Regions from separate parts of the Homo sapiens genome. Here region 1 is linked to region 2. The links are contacts of gene promoters, found by promoter capture Hi-C in blood cells and fetal thymus (Javierre and others, 2016). All regions are on one chromosome and are shown on one strand. The core of a region is centred on a gene start or on the middle of the fragment in contact, and the rest is flanking DNA. Distances in the headings are between cores, read along the strand shown.

Region 1 (6,348 bases), core at 3,219-5,718, 240 kb before region 2:
GGGAACCTGAAGATGGAAAAGGACCCGGTAATAGTCCGTTCTCACACTGCTATAAAGAACTTCCCAAGATGGTAGTTTACAAAACAAAGAGGTTTAACTGACTCACAGTTTTGCATGGCTGGGGAGGCCTCAGGAAACTTACAATCATGCTGGAAGACGACGGGGAGGCAGGCATCTTCTTCACAAGGAAGCAGGAGAGAGTGAACTCAGGAGGAACTACCAAACACTTATAAAACCATCAGATCTCGTGAGAACTCACTCACTTTCACGAGAACAGCATGGGAACTGCCCCCATGATTCAATTACCTCCACCTGGTCTCTCCCTCGACACATGGGGATGATGGGAATTACAATTCAAGATGAGATTTTGGGTGGGGACACAGCCAAGCCATATCAGAACCCCTACCAGAACCTTGCATGGCATACTGATGAAAAAAAGAGGCACCTAGTCCTTGGTGACATTAACTGAGCAGTGGAATGAAACTTCACCTGAACCTGGCAATTCCGCTGAAATTTTCAATACATTCCAGTCATTTTCAATAAATTATATTTTTATTTGTCCAATTTGAGCTGAGGTTTTCTCTGGAAATTTGAAGATTTTAAACTGATAGTAATAGCAACTTCTTTCTTGCCTGTCAATCCACAACCCCCTTTGAGATAAGCCCCTCCTCTGATCCCTTTTGCTGACATAAACATTTCCAAATTAAGTGAGTGAAATGAAAAGTGGCTTTCTACAATTCTGACTTGAATTTTTTAGTGATAACAAAAGCAACAATGTTACTACCAACAATATTGGCTAATATTTAGTAAGTACTTATTGTACACCAAGAGTAAGTTAAGGCAGTGGTGCTCAAATTTTGCTGCAAATTTGTTTTTCAAATCCATCATGCCCACACCACACCTGTATCAATTTGATTCTTATGGTACCAGCATTTCTGGAGGCGGAAAACACACATCAGCATTTTTGAAAGTTTCCCAGGTAATTCCATGAGCAATTAAATTTGAGAACTCCTGTGCTAAAGGTTTCCTAATGAATTATTTCATTTAATCCTTATAGCAACCATTTCAAGTACTTATTATTATCATTATCTTCACCATTTAGCCAACAAGGAAGAAGCTGGAGTCTCAGGAAAGCCACACAGGTAATGTTTAATAGAACCAGGCTTTGAAAATATTAGAGGAGAGTGAGGTTCTTGAACATCAGCAATAAATAGGAGGGAAAAAAAGGAAGCCAGGAGCATAGATAATTCAAAGAGGAAGTAATCAGTCCCTCCAAGAAAGAGCTGATGGAGAAAAGCTGACAAAGTCAGAGTATTCTAAGTGTTAAAAATCCATCCTCACGAGAAGCATTTGAGGATCTAACAGTGGTTTATCAGCTGAGCACAGTACAGGCCCTACTGCTGTTCATTTGTCACTGTTCAGTAGACATTTATCAAACCACATCCATAAACGAAACACTTAACTGATAAGCAAGCTGTGTACCGCAATAAAAGAGACAGATTCAAGCCTGAAAGAAACCCTCCATGTGGCAGCAGAATTCACTTTGACTCCCAATGCCTGGGGACAAACAGGGCTCTGATGCAGTGTCGGCAACTGTCTTTAAAACTAATATCGATATTGAAATTGCAAGTTAGGCCAATAAACTTAGGTTCAAAGATAAATTTCATAGCTGCATTATCAATATAGTTCTTGGAACTAACAGGCTTATATGAAATTTGGCTGAAATGTTGTTGGGGGAAGAAGAAAAAATATTCTTTCCTATACTAAAAACTGTGAGCAATTTTGAATCATCAACAAAGCATTAATTATAGTAAGTCTGATACAAAACTGAGAGGCTAAACTATTGAAATTCCATGTTACTAAGGAGATAAATGTAAATAACAGATTAGTTTCATATGAAACACTTATAGAAGCCTTCTTGAATACAGTTCTAATTTTTCTTTCAAAAATCTTTGTTTTTTACATTTTACCATAGATCATTTTAACCCTTTCAGCAAATAAAATAAAAATTAAAAAATTAAAAAACCCAGCAGCCGTGTGTTTGCTGTGTCATAGAATATGCTGGCACCTACTGCCTTTTTACGCCTCTGAAGAATAATTATTCCAGGTGATTTTTTTTTCTTGCATCTCCAAAGCAACAGATCATTTTAATGTCAGAGAAAGAATTTTGACTTTTAAAAGATAAAACAAAAGTTGTGGGAAGACACTCAAATAGAAAATAGCTAGTTTTATATCAAGTATGGAAAGACGCATTGAGCTCCTAAATGGCAACTGTACTTCTATGTTTGCCAATACCCTCTCTGCCAGAAATGAAGTATGTAAAGTACTAAATTTTAAATAAAATGAAGAATAGCTTTTAACTTTGATGGCAAGACAACATATCCTGCTACTATATCCTACCAGATCATCTAAGCTTAAAAAATTATGTTCTTCATCCAATATTTAAAAATTATCTTCAAAAAATAAACAGACTGCAAACACTTCTTTGAATATTTCTTCAGTAAGTTTTTCAAACCAAAACAAATGACACTGCACACAATTCATCCCAAAGTATGCTGATCTTTACTAGTAACATTTGCAGAATTAAGACTATACACCTTTTGGCATTGTGGATGGAATCATTTCAATTGCAGAGCATTTCAGCTATATGGGAGTTCTATTCATCATGTCTAACGGTTAGTTCCCATATGTTTACGAGGTTCAAAGATTTTTTCAAATAATTTCAAGTACTTTTTAATCATTTAGAATTACCCAGTAACTTGGGCATTGTTGTCGTTGTCTTTTTTTTTCAAACAAAGGCAAAATTAGAGGACATAAAGCAAGCCCCTCTGTCCAAGAGCCCACATATTTGTTCATTGTTTCCGTCTTTTAATAAAAGTGAAAGTGTTTAGGGCATACTGGCTATTGTGTTTTACAACATCTATAACATAGAAACTTTTAATTGGGGCAATTAATTGATATTGTGACACAGCCAAACAATCAAGGCAGCATCTGGTGCATGCACAACACTCAACCTCCTACCTTGGGAGCTTTGGCGTGTCTCCCACATCTGGCATCTTTGACAAGGCTGAGATCCAGTAGCTCTGTCTCCTGGAAGGCAAAAACGTGAAATCGTTAAGCAACGACACAGACCTTTCCTCTTTGTTTTATGTCATTGACATCACTTAAAAAAATTATCTTGAGACTTGACTGAAGACTTCTCTGCAGTTGGGATATTTCTTTCCTCTTATATCACTTCTCAATTGAATTAGGTTGGAAACAAAAGACAGCTAACTGCTAACTGCTCAGTTATACATTTTGAAAGCAAAAAGTGTGTGGTTATGTCCCCAGTCTATCCTACAAGCCATTCCTAAATCATGATGAATCAGGTCTTCTTGTTCTTACTTTTGAATATAATCCTGGGAGTCACTGAGCGTAGGTGAGGGTATGAGGGTATGTCGGTAGAGAGAAAGATTAGGGAGGAGGACGGAGTGGGATGCTCCCATCGGCTCACATACATACCCAGCTTATCTGGCCAAGGCAGAGATACGAATCTGCCTCTGACAGCCCCCAGCCTTTTGCACACATACCTCATGCCCTGATCTTTTCACTTAATCATTACCCATCATTGAACACCTGTAATACACAAGTTACTCTAGGGAATAAGGCATAGAAGATATGATTGCTTTCCTGGATGGACCTGTCATCAAATAGGAGTGTAAAGAAATGTATATGTGTAAGACAAGGGGGAATGTGTTAATGCCAATTTTAAAGTTGACTACTATGGTTGGGGGGCAGCAAAGAAAACACAGTTTTTTTCCTAGGGGCTCAGAGAAAAGTTTATGAGAAATCATTAAGCTTGGAAAAAAAGAAGTTGGGGAGGGGTTCCTCCCAGTTGGAGGGGAAAATATGAGCAAATGCCTAGATGAGAAAGGGCCAGAGGTTTTGGCTGAACCTTGAGGTGTTCGTGGCCTTTAGACACTTAGAGACAGAGAACATTGCGGGGAAAGGAGGTAGGGAGAAGGATAGAGAAGCATCCAGGAGGGAAGAACTGCAAAGGTGCAGGTACAGTGGTATTGTAGAAGGATGGAAGCGGATTCACGTGGGAGGACATTCAATATTCCATTGGCTAGGCCACAGAACATGTGACAAGAAGTCATGAGAGATGACATCAGAAAGGAATATGGCCAAAGAATGGAAACCCTAAATGTCTGGCTAAGGAGACTGAGCCATGAGGTTTGTGACACACACAGGTTGCTGCATTAGACAGTGGACTCTACCACCAGCCAGGTAGGACTGTGGTGCAGTGAGCAGTTGTCTTAAAGTGACTCCAGATGTCCTAACTATGATTCCTGGGCAATGAGCAAGTTGGATGGAGCATCGAATCCCCTTCTCCCGGAAGGAGGCACTGCATCCTAATTCAGCTGCCAATAGAACCTCTGGATAGGAGTGGCTGTAACTTCTTAAAGGCCAAGCTCCCTAAGAACCAGCACCTTTTGCTCTTAGTCAACTTCTTCAAACAGCTGCTGCCAGTTCCAAATGTCTGGTGCAAACTGGTCTGATTATTTTTCTGCACCTAAGATTGCCTTGTAGTAAAGGCCAAATTAAAGGTGAAGTCTCACTCCTCGAATGCAAACCCACACAGAAGGTCCAACAGAACTCCTGACACACCTCTCTGTGAGATGAAGGGTGGACAGGAAACAGTGGGTCTCTGCTCTTGCTCACTCTGACCTTGTAAGTTTCATTTTCCCCATTTTAGAGGGTTCCTTAGCCCATTTCATGCTGTGTCTGACCCTGTGGAAATTCTCCCAAACCCCTGGGGTGTGACAGGTGGCAACCCAGCAAGGAATTTGCAATACAGAGTGACTGGTGCCACAGTTCCCCGAAGGCCACACCATCCACAATATTGGAGGTTACCTTATGAGTGTTAGAAAACAATGGTCTCAACCATGTTCAATGCTTCACTTCAGAAAATGCACATTATAGAACCCTCTGTGAAGAAACGGTGGAAAAACCAGACATGAGTAAGTCAAGCATATGTCCAGGTTTCTTCATCTCTACAGCAATGACAACCAAAATATTTGCTGGAAGAGGAGAAACAGTAAGGGAATCAAGCTTGAAGAAGTTTAATCTAGAAGATGGGAAATAAGTGGAGATCTGAGAGGTGAAAGATGAGAGACAAAATGAAGGTAAGTAATTGGAAGAAAGAGGAGAGAGATGGCAATGGAGGAACTGACTGAAGGAAAGAGGGAAGTCATAAAACACGCTGCAGTTTCCACCTTTCCTACACTGAGACTCAGAAGTTTGGGCAAAATGATAGTGCATTCTGGAGATGTTGGTTTGAGGGGTTTATCCAAGTGAAAATGCCAGTAATTAATTCACTGGAGCATTATTTATTGAATGCCTACAATGTATCAGGTATACACTAGTACTGAGAAACTAAAACATACAAAGATAAGATCCCAGTTTCGATGAGTTCACAAGCAAGTCAAATATTATATGCTAAAGGAAATATTTCAAAGTGCCCTACAGACATTGGCTACAGAGAGCTATGGCATGATTTCAGCCAGTACACAAGGATGAGACAGAGTTTGCCAGCCTTATAACTGTGTGATCGGGGTGGGAGGGTGGGTGGTGGTTTCAGAGAGAGGAAATTGCGGGTAGAAACTCACAGAAGCAGGAATTGTGTGCAGAAAACTACAACCCACTTAGGATATGTCACAGAGGTATATGGAGCATTAGCAACAATCACTTTGGGATTTAGTGGTCATTACATGGGTGTTCTCTTTATAATTATTTATAAAACACTAACATTTACATTTGATGTAATTTTCCATATATGTTGCATGATGTTTTACATCTATATAGGATAAAAATATATCTCTCACACACAGTATTTTTACCTAATCAATAGTAATATTTTCTTTTATTTTTTCTTTTTCTTTTTTTTTTTTTTTTTTTTTTGAGAGACAGAGTCTCACTCCATCACCCAGGCTAAAGTGCAGTGGTGCAATCTCAACTCACTGCAACTTCTACCTCCCGGGTTCAAGTGATTCTCGTGCCTCAGCCCTCGAGTAGCTGAAATTACAGGCACACACCACAATGCTCTGCTAATTTTTGTATTTTTAGTACATACGGCATTTTGCTATGTTGGCCAGGCTGGTCTCAAACTCCAGACCTCAAGTGATCCACTCGCCTCGGGCTCCCAAAGTGCTGGGATTGCAGGCATGAGCCACCGTGCCCGGCCCGTAATATTTTCTATTTAAGGAAATTCCTCCCAATTGAAGAAACAATAGACTTAAACATAACTTGTTTGATTATATACGCAAAGCCCAAATTGAATTAACAAAGAACTAGATCTTAGCAGGC
Region 2 (7,080 bases), core at 4,111-6,610:
CGCATGTTACACTGATTTTTTAAAAAGTTTCAAGTAGTTTTATTGATTTGCTTGCAAAAGAGTTATGCTCTTACACTTAGATTACAGTAATTATTGACTGCCAATGAGAAATTCTCAAAGCTCTTTGGACAAGAAAAATGGACATAACTGGGCAAATTTAAGTGGCTCCTTAGAGGGCATCTGCTAGCCTTCCATTCTAAAATCCACCTTGCACTTTGTAGTTGCTCCATCCACATCAGCCAGCTACCAACTCAGAGAAGTTTCCTCCCTGTTTCCCATAACCTTTCCAAAGTGAACGCTACTAAATTCCCACCTCGCAAACCCTTTTCCCCTCTGCTCTCTCATTAATCTTGTGAGTGTCATCTTGTCATCATTTACTTGTCATCATTTTGGAAACTGGAACAGCAGATTCCACATAATGCAAAAGTTCTAAGCTTTTGTGTAGGATGCTGGGAAGTGTGCAATATACTAGTATTTCTTAAATTACCTGTTTTAGCTGTGGGGGTTGGAGGTGTGGTAAAGGAGGGAGTTACTTGATTCAAATCCAGATGGCATTAACGCAAATCCAAACTTCTGAGTTTCATCAGACTTCTCAGACAACTTAGTCTAGCAATTATTTTTCCATGTTAGAATATGCTTGTAAGACAGAACGTGCAATGTTAAATTATATACACATATATACATAAATATATTTTATATGGAATTTAAGTAAAAATAAACTTTTGGATTATTTGTAAACTGACTTGCTGTAGAGAATGGATCCTGCTCTAAATTACGTACTTATTTTCCGTGAAACACCTGGATTTTTAAAAGAAGGTGAGAAACCTGATTTTTCTCCAAATTATAAAGTATAAAATCAAAACACACATTAAAGGGAATGGAAGTAAGGTCTGAATTTTTCCACTAGTAGAATAAAAGAGCCATAGAACACCTGCTAATCACCTTGATAAAATTCACGTCCATCTTATTTTTGAGGGACAATAACTTTTTTTTTTTTTTTGAGACAGAGTCTTGCTCTGTCGCCCAGGCTGGAGTGCAGTGGCGCGATCTCGGCTCACTGCAAGCTCCGCCTCCCAGGTTCACGCCATTCTCCTGCCTCAGCCTCCCGAGCAGCTGGGACTACAGGCGCCCGCCACCACGCCCGGCTAATTTTTTGTATTTTTAGTAGAGAGGGGGTTTCACCGTGTTAGCCAGGATGGTCTCGATCTCCTGGTCTTGTGATCTGCCCGCCTCGGCTTCCCAAAGTGCTAGGATTACAGGCTTGAGCCACCGCGCCCGGCCGACAATAACTTTTAAAAACATGTTTTATTGAAGGTTGCCTGTATGTCAGGCTTTATACAAAGCAATGCATATGCATTCATTTATTTAACCTCAACAGCTGTTCTGAGTTAGGAAATATTACAATTTGCATGTTACCGTTGAGGAAACTGAAGTTGGGATGCGTTAAGCAACCTGCCCACAGTAAGATCTGAATTTGAAAGGTAAGAATGAAGAAACAGAAGGAATAAATAAATGAAAACCCTTCCATCCCTCAGAGGTTGTGCGACAGTGAGACAGAGTGCTTAGGCATGGAAAACAGGGCCAAATCAGTGGCTGGGGGTCCTATTGTACAGTTTACAGTCCTTGCTCTTTCTCTCCATGTCCTGCCCAATATAGACCAAGGCCAAGATCCAGAAGAGAGAGGAGCTTCTCTCACAATCTCCCAAGCTCCCTAGCTTAGATCAAGAAAGTAACTCTCCTTCCACTGTCTACCTCACCAGAATTCTCCCACAAATACCCATAGTCCTTTACACCCACCTCCTACCACCAGAGCCTGCTAACAGACAAATGCAAAACAAAAGCAAAGACATGAGGTTGAATTTTTTAAATATCATTAGGTCAGTCCTTTATCTTCATGCCAAGTTCAGAAGGACAGGTATAGCCTTGATGTTCAGACAATATACACCATGAGTTTTAAAATACTGAAATAGTCAAAAAAACTCCAGCTACCTACCCACCCATCCACAGACCCTGGGGACTCCCAGACCTCCCCATGACCAAGCAGCAAAAATATTAACGCCTGGCCCTGGTACAACAGGGTATCTCCAGGATCTATTACCCCCCTGCTGTCTGTTGTGATTGTTTAGTGCCTATGTTAAAGCTTTCGACTACCACCCTTAGAGCATCCACAGCCTCACTGTGACTTGGTAGGTGGCCAGCAAATTATGCATGGCACTGCAACCTCTGGGTGACATCTTCCATTCCATATGGTGGTCAAGACAACAAGACCAGTGATTATACTGCTTTAATCACTTCAGGAACAAGAGATAATTTCTTCACATCCTAAACAGCCCCAAATTCATCATTTTTGAATGTCCTGTAACATTACCACGCTTTTACACAAGAAGCAGCAAAAATACAGAGAAGCTAAGTGATTTGCCTAAAGTCATGCAGCTTACTGGTGAAAGAACTAGGAGGTAAACTCAGGCCTTTGATTCAAGATCTGGTTCTTTTTTGTCTTCAACACACTGTCTCACTAAGGTACAATATAAATAGCCAGATAACTTGAACTGGCTTGATTCTGGAAGGGCAAATACGAGCTGAGAAGAGTAGAAAAGGGATGCCTGGGGAAGAGAAAGGCAACCTTAAGAAAGGCTGGGTCCCTTGTAGTCCACTGATCAGCATGAAGACCCAGAGAACCAAAGAGCCTGCAAGATAGCTCATTATATTCCAGATAACTTGACTCCTGAGTGCAGTCTAGGTTTTTTTTTTTTTTTTAAAAAAGACCTGAAATTCTTCTGGTCTTCTCCTTAGTGACTATGTCCTTTCTTTCAGGAGGGCTTCCTTGGAAACTCACTGCTGCAATGCTCAGAAGGAGCTCTTTTCAACTTCTTCTTTGGTTGGTATTTCACTAACGTCCTCTCTATTACCCTCAATGCATCACCCAATCTCTCTCTCATTGGTGTTTTTGATGATTTTTGTCTCCTCCACCTAGCATGTAAGGTCCGTAACAGCAGGGATTTTGTCTACTTTTTTCACCACCCCAGAATCCAGTCTAGGATTGGCAGTAATAGGTGAGCAAGAAATATGTGTTACAGAAATGCACATAATGAAAGTCATCTACCTGGATATACCAAAATGTGTTTTCATAGAATACTTTCATTCTCAATGTGATGTTGGCTATTCTCTCCCAAACAAGAAATTATAGAGAATTATTTAAAATACAGTTTAGAATCATCACTGTATACAAATCCAGAGCTTACGCTGAAACTCCCTTTTCTAAATTCTGCAAAGTCTCTTTCTCTTTCCTCTGCCCTTCACTCTCTTTCTCAGTAAATCCATCATCACATCACCTCTCTATTCAAGGATCTCAAAATGGGCAAGACCGTCTTGTTTATTGCTGAACTGCATTTTCTTTGTCTTTTTTTTCCCTGACACAAAGCATTTAATCTGCGTCTGAATTTATTGTTTAGATTCTATTCCATTTACAGAAACATTCAGTACAATTAGACTGGAACAGAAAGAAGAAAAGTGTGAAGCCCATGGTAAAAAGATGTATGTTTACATCCTTGCCTACAGCATTTAATAATTGGCACGAGCTTTCAAGGAAGCTGTGGTTCATACTCCAAGTTCCGTTTGCGCTTCCAGCTGGACAAAATATAGACACAGACGCACTCAGCTAAGTAATTGGATTCACTACCTGGAATATTTAAATTGTTTTCAGACACTGGAAAATGGCTTAAGAAGATTAAAGAAAAATACCCTAGAGGATAACAGGCTATAATTTACTAGGTGGAAAATCTTTTCGGCAAGAAGAACGCCTCATTCTCCTATAATTCCTTCTGATTAAGAGATGTATTAGTCATTTGGACTTAAATTTGCTTAGAGCCTGGCAACTCGGGTTTATTTCAGTAGGTTTTTCTTATCGAACCTTTAGAATGACACCCAGGACATAAAACTGATACCATAATGTTCTCCATCCGAAGATTCGCATGTTTTCAGCTGGATAACTAATTTACGTGTTTTGAAGACAACTGGGGTAGAGGGGAAGGGGAAGTCATTTGAAGTCCTGGGGTCTGGGCCGCTCGTAAAGCATTAGAGACCCCGGCGCTGGGCTAGGCTCTGCCCTACCTGGCAAACGGTGCAGGTAAATCGTGGGGCAAACTCTCAACCTGTCTATTTCAGGCAGAAGACTCCAATCAGCTCAGTTCTCAAAAGTCAGCCCTCCCCACTTGCCTGCAGGCCCATGAGCCCTCCAGGACCCCTCAAGGGCCCCCATTCTGTTCACGCCCTCCCCAGATGTGTCCCCGCAGCCCTTTTCAGGGACCCTCACTCCGGAGCCAGGCGCTGAAGTTTGGCATCAACGACCACCTGTTGGCTGGACCGTTGTGTCCTCCGCCGCCTTGGCTCCCACAAAAGCGCCAAGAGGGTTCGCAATCACTAAAGTGTTTTGAACTTCAGGTCCTTCCTTCTTGAAATCGGGCAAAAGAGGTAATAGGGGGTGCGTCCGCAGGCGGAGAGGGACGCGATTTGTTCACACCAGGCGCTTTCCAGTTGGTCCCAACTTCACACTCCCTACTTTCCGAACTCTCAGGACCTGTCACCAGGCAAAGCTTGCCCCTCCCTCTCCACTGGCCCAAAAGATGTAAGACCCTCAGGGGGCGCCTGCCAGACCCAGAAAGGATGGCAACTACTGAAGCCCGATGAAACAGGAGCGCGCGCAAAGCTTCTGCCCTTGGACATCCGCTTTGGCAGATGCCAACCTGTGCGCCCGAGGCTGCCCCTGCCCGCTCCCAGTGCGCCCATTGCATAACGCGCCCCTTGCCCCACCCCCACGACGCCCGCCCTGCCCGGTGCCCGAGCCAGCGCCCCGACTCGGGCCGCCCCAATACTTACATCATCCCACTTGACGAATTTGGTGCCCTTCTTGAGGCTGTCGGACACGCACACGGGCTTGAGTTGCAAGGCGTGCACTCCGGGTTGAGCCCCGGCCATCTGGGCTCATCTGGGCTCCGGGCGGCCCGGGCGAGCGCGGCAGGGACTGGGGACCGTGCGCGGGGCGCGGGGCGCGGGGCGCGGGCTCCTTTCTCTGCTCCGGAGGCGCTCGACTCTGCTCCCCGCCGGCCTCCCCGGCCTCCCGGCCTCCGCACCTCCCTCCGGCGCCGCTCAGCAGGCAGAGCGCGCGGGGGCGCAGCGCCCGGCCATGCCCCGGGCGGGACGCGAGGTCTGGAGCCCGCGGTGGATGAGGAGCCTCGGAAGGCGAAGAGAAGCCGAGCCGGTCAGCCGAGGCTGCCAGTCGCGGCGGATTCTGCTCCTCCGCCGCCGCCGCCTCAAAGCGCACCATTCAGCACATCCTCTATACACAGAGGGAGAGAGCGAGTGACACACGCCCGGCGCCCCCCCTAACCGCTCTTTTCCCTCCTCCCTCCTCCTCCCCCCCGCCCCCCTTCCCCGCCACCCTCGCTCGCTGGGTCCTTCCTTCCCCCCGCGGCTCCCAGCCCAACTTTGCACGCTGGGTCAGGCGCCAGGAAGCGGGGACGCAGCGGCACCTCCTGGCTCCCGAGCCCCATTGCAGCCAACGCCTGCCTCCCGCATTCGCTCTGAGCATGCCCCGTGCCCTGGTTGCAGAGGTGCTAGGGGTCCCCAGGAGCCTTACGCTCTTTGGGGTTTTCTTGGGAATTTGGGCTCGAGCTCCGGAGCGTCTTTGGATCCCAACTGGCTGGGAAAAGGGGCCCATCGGGAGGAACCAAAGAGGCAACCCCTGGCTTTTGGCTCTAGCTGGAGCTCTCCAGCGCCAGCCACAAACCAGCTTTTTGAAGAGAATTATCATTTATCAGCAGAGAAGAGCGCAGTTGAGAGGCTCTTTGAGGAAACCTGGCCGCGCCTGAGAGTTTGCAGCGCGCTGATCTTGAAACCCGGGCAAACGGTTACGTTGTGCTTTCGAGACAGAAAGCCCATCCTAAAGAAAGCAAAGGTTTTATTTTCCGAGGAAGAAAGAGGGTGCCCTCTCCCGCTCCTCTCCTTGAGTGTGTAGGATGTGTGGCGGGTGGGGGAGAGTCTTATTAATAGAAACTTGCTCATTTAGGAACATAGGTCCAGGAATGTTTGTCTTCACTCCTTCCACAAACATTTCTCAATTCAAGAAAGAAAGGGAGGGAGGGAGGGAAGAAGGGAAAGAGGAGGACCAGAATGGATAAAATTTTAAAGACTGGTAATACCAAATGCTTGAAAGGATGTGGAGCAACTGGAACTCTTTTTTTTTTTTTATTAAGGAGAGAGAGGAGAGGGAGAGAGAGAGTGAGTGAGTGTGAGAGAGAGAAAGAGAGAGAGAGAGAGACACACGCGGGAGGTGGGGGGGCGGAGAGAGAAATAGCTTGGAACTCTTGTTCATTGCTGGAGGGAATATAAAATAGTAAAACCACTTTGGAGAATAGTTTCTTATAAAGTAAGATATTTACTTATCATACAACCTAGAAATTCCACTCCTAAGTATTTGTCCAAAAGAAATGAAAACGTTCAAGTCTGCAGGGACTTGTAAAGTGATGTGAAGAACTTTCTTCTTAGTAGCCTGCAAATGTCAATCAACAGGTGAATGGATAAACAAACTGTGGTATGCCCAAATATTGGAATACTATTCCACAATAAAAATGAGTGGGCATGCAAGATCAGGGATGAATCGCGACTTTAAGCTTTGTAAAAGAAGCCGGACACGATAGACTGTATGCTGCCTGATTCCATGTGTAGGAATTGCAGAATAGGCAAGATATTCTATGTTGACAGAAAGCTTGCCTGTGGCCAGGGATAGGTAGAGATGGACAGGGAAGGGCTACGAGCACCTGATGAGCATGTCGGAAATGTTCTATATCGTGTGTGTGTTTATCAAAACTTGTAAGTTCTGTAAGTACGCCTAAATTGAGTGCAGTTTGTTTTAAATAAATTATATCTCAAAAAGGTTGATTTTTAAAAAGAAGAAAGAATACGAAGAGAGAAAAATGGAGAGAAACACTACATTCTCTTAATCCTTCATTCTCCCTGTTCTCTGCCCTCAGGACTCCAAGGCCCAATGCTTATGAACTCAGTCAAAAGATTACCAAAATCCAA

Evidence for each region. The method cuts DNA at HindIII sites, captures the fragments that hold promoters and counts their contacts. A CHiCAGO score of 5 or more calls a contact.
Region 1: a contact is called between a fragment that was not itself captured here and the fragment with the promoter of PLCB1 in region 2, in 2 of 17 cell types (megakaryocytes and M0 macrophages). The highest score is 5.6, in megakaryocytes.

What each region holds. Positions count from the first base shown.
Region 1 is chr20:8,368,124-8,374,471 of GRCh38, reverse strand. PLCB1 (phospholipase C beta 1) reads right to left here. Exons shown (of 32, transcript NM_015192.4): 3 at 3,022-3,090. Among named protein-coding and RNA genes, the nearest start is that of PLCB1-IT1, 120 kb to the right of the region's middle. The HindIII fragment of the contact is 1,257 bases long and covers 3,840-5,096 here.
Region 2 is chr20:8,130,546-8,137,625 of GRCh38, reverse strand. PLCB1 (phospholipase C beta 1) reads right to left here and starts at 5,360. Exons shown (of 32, transcript NM_015192.4): 1 at 4,876-5,360. The coding sequence starts at 4,974. RefSeq lists a silencer at 5,135-5,274. The HindIII fragment of the contact is 1,963 bases long and covers 4,708-6,670 here.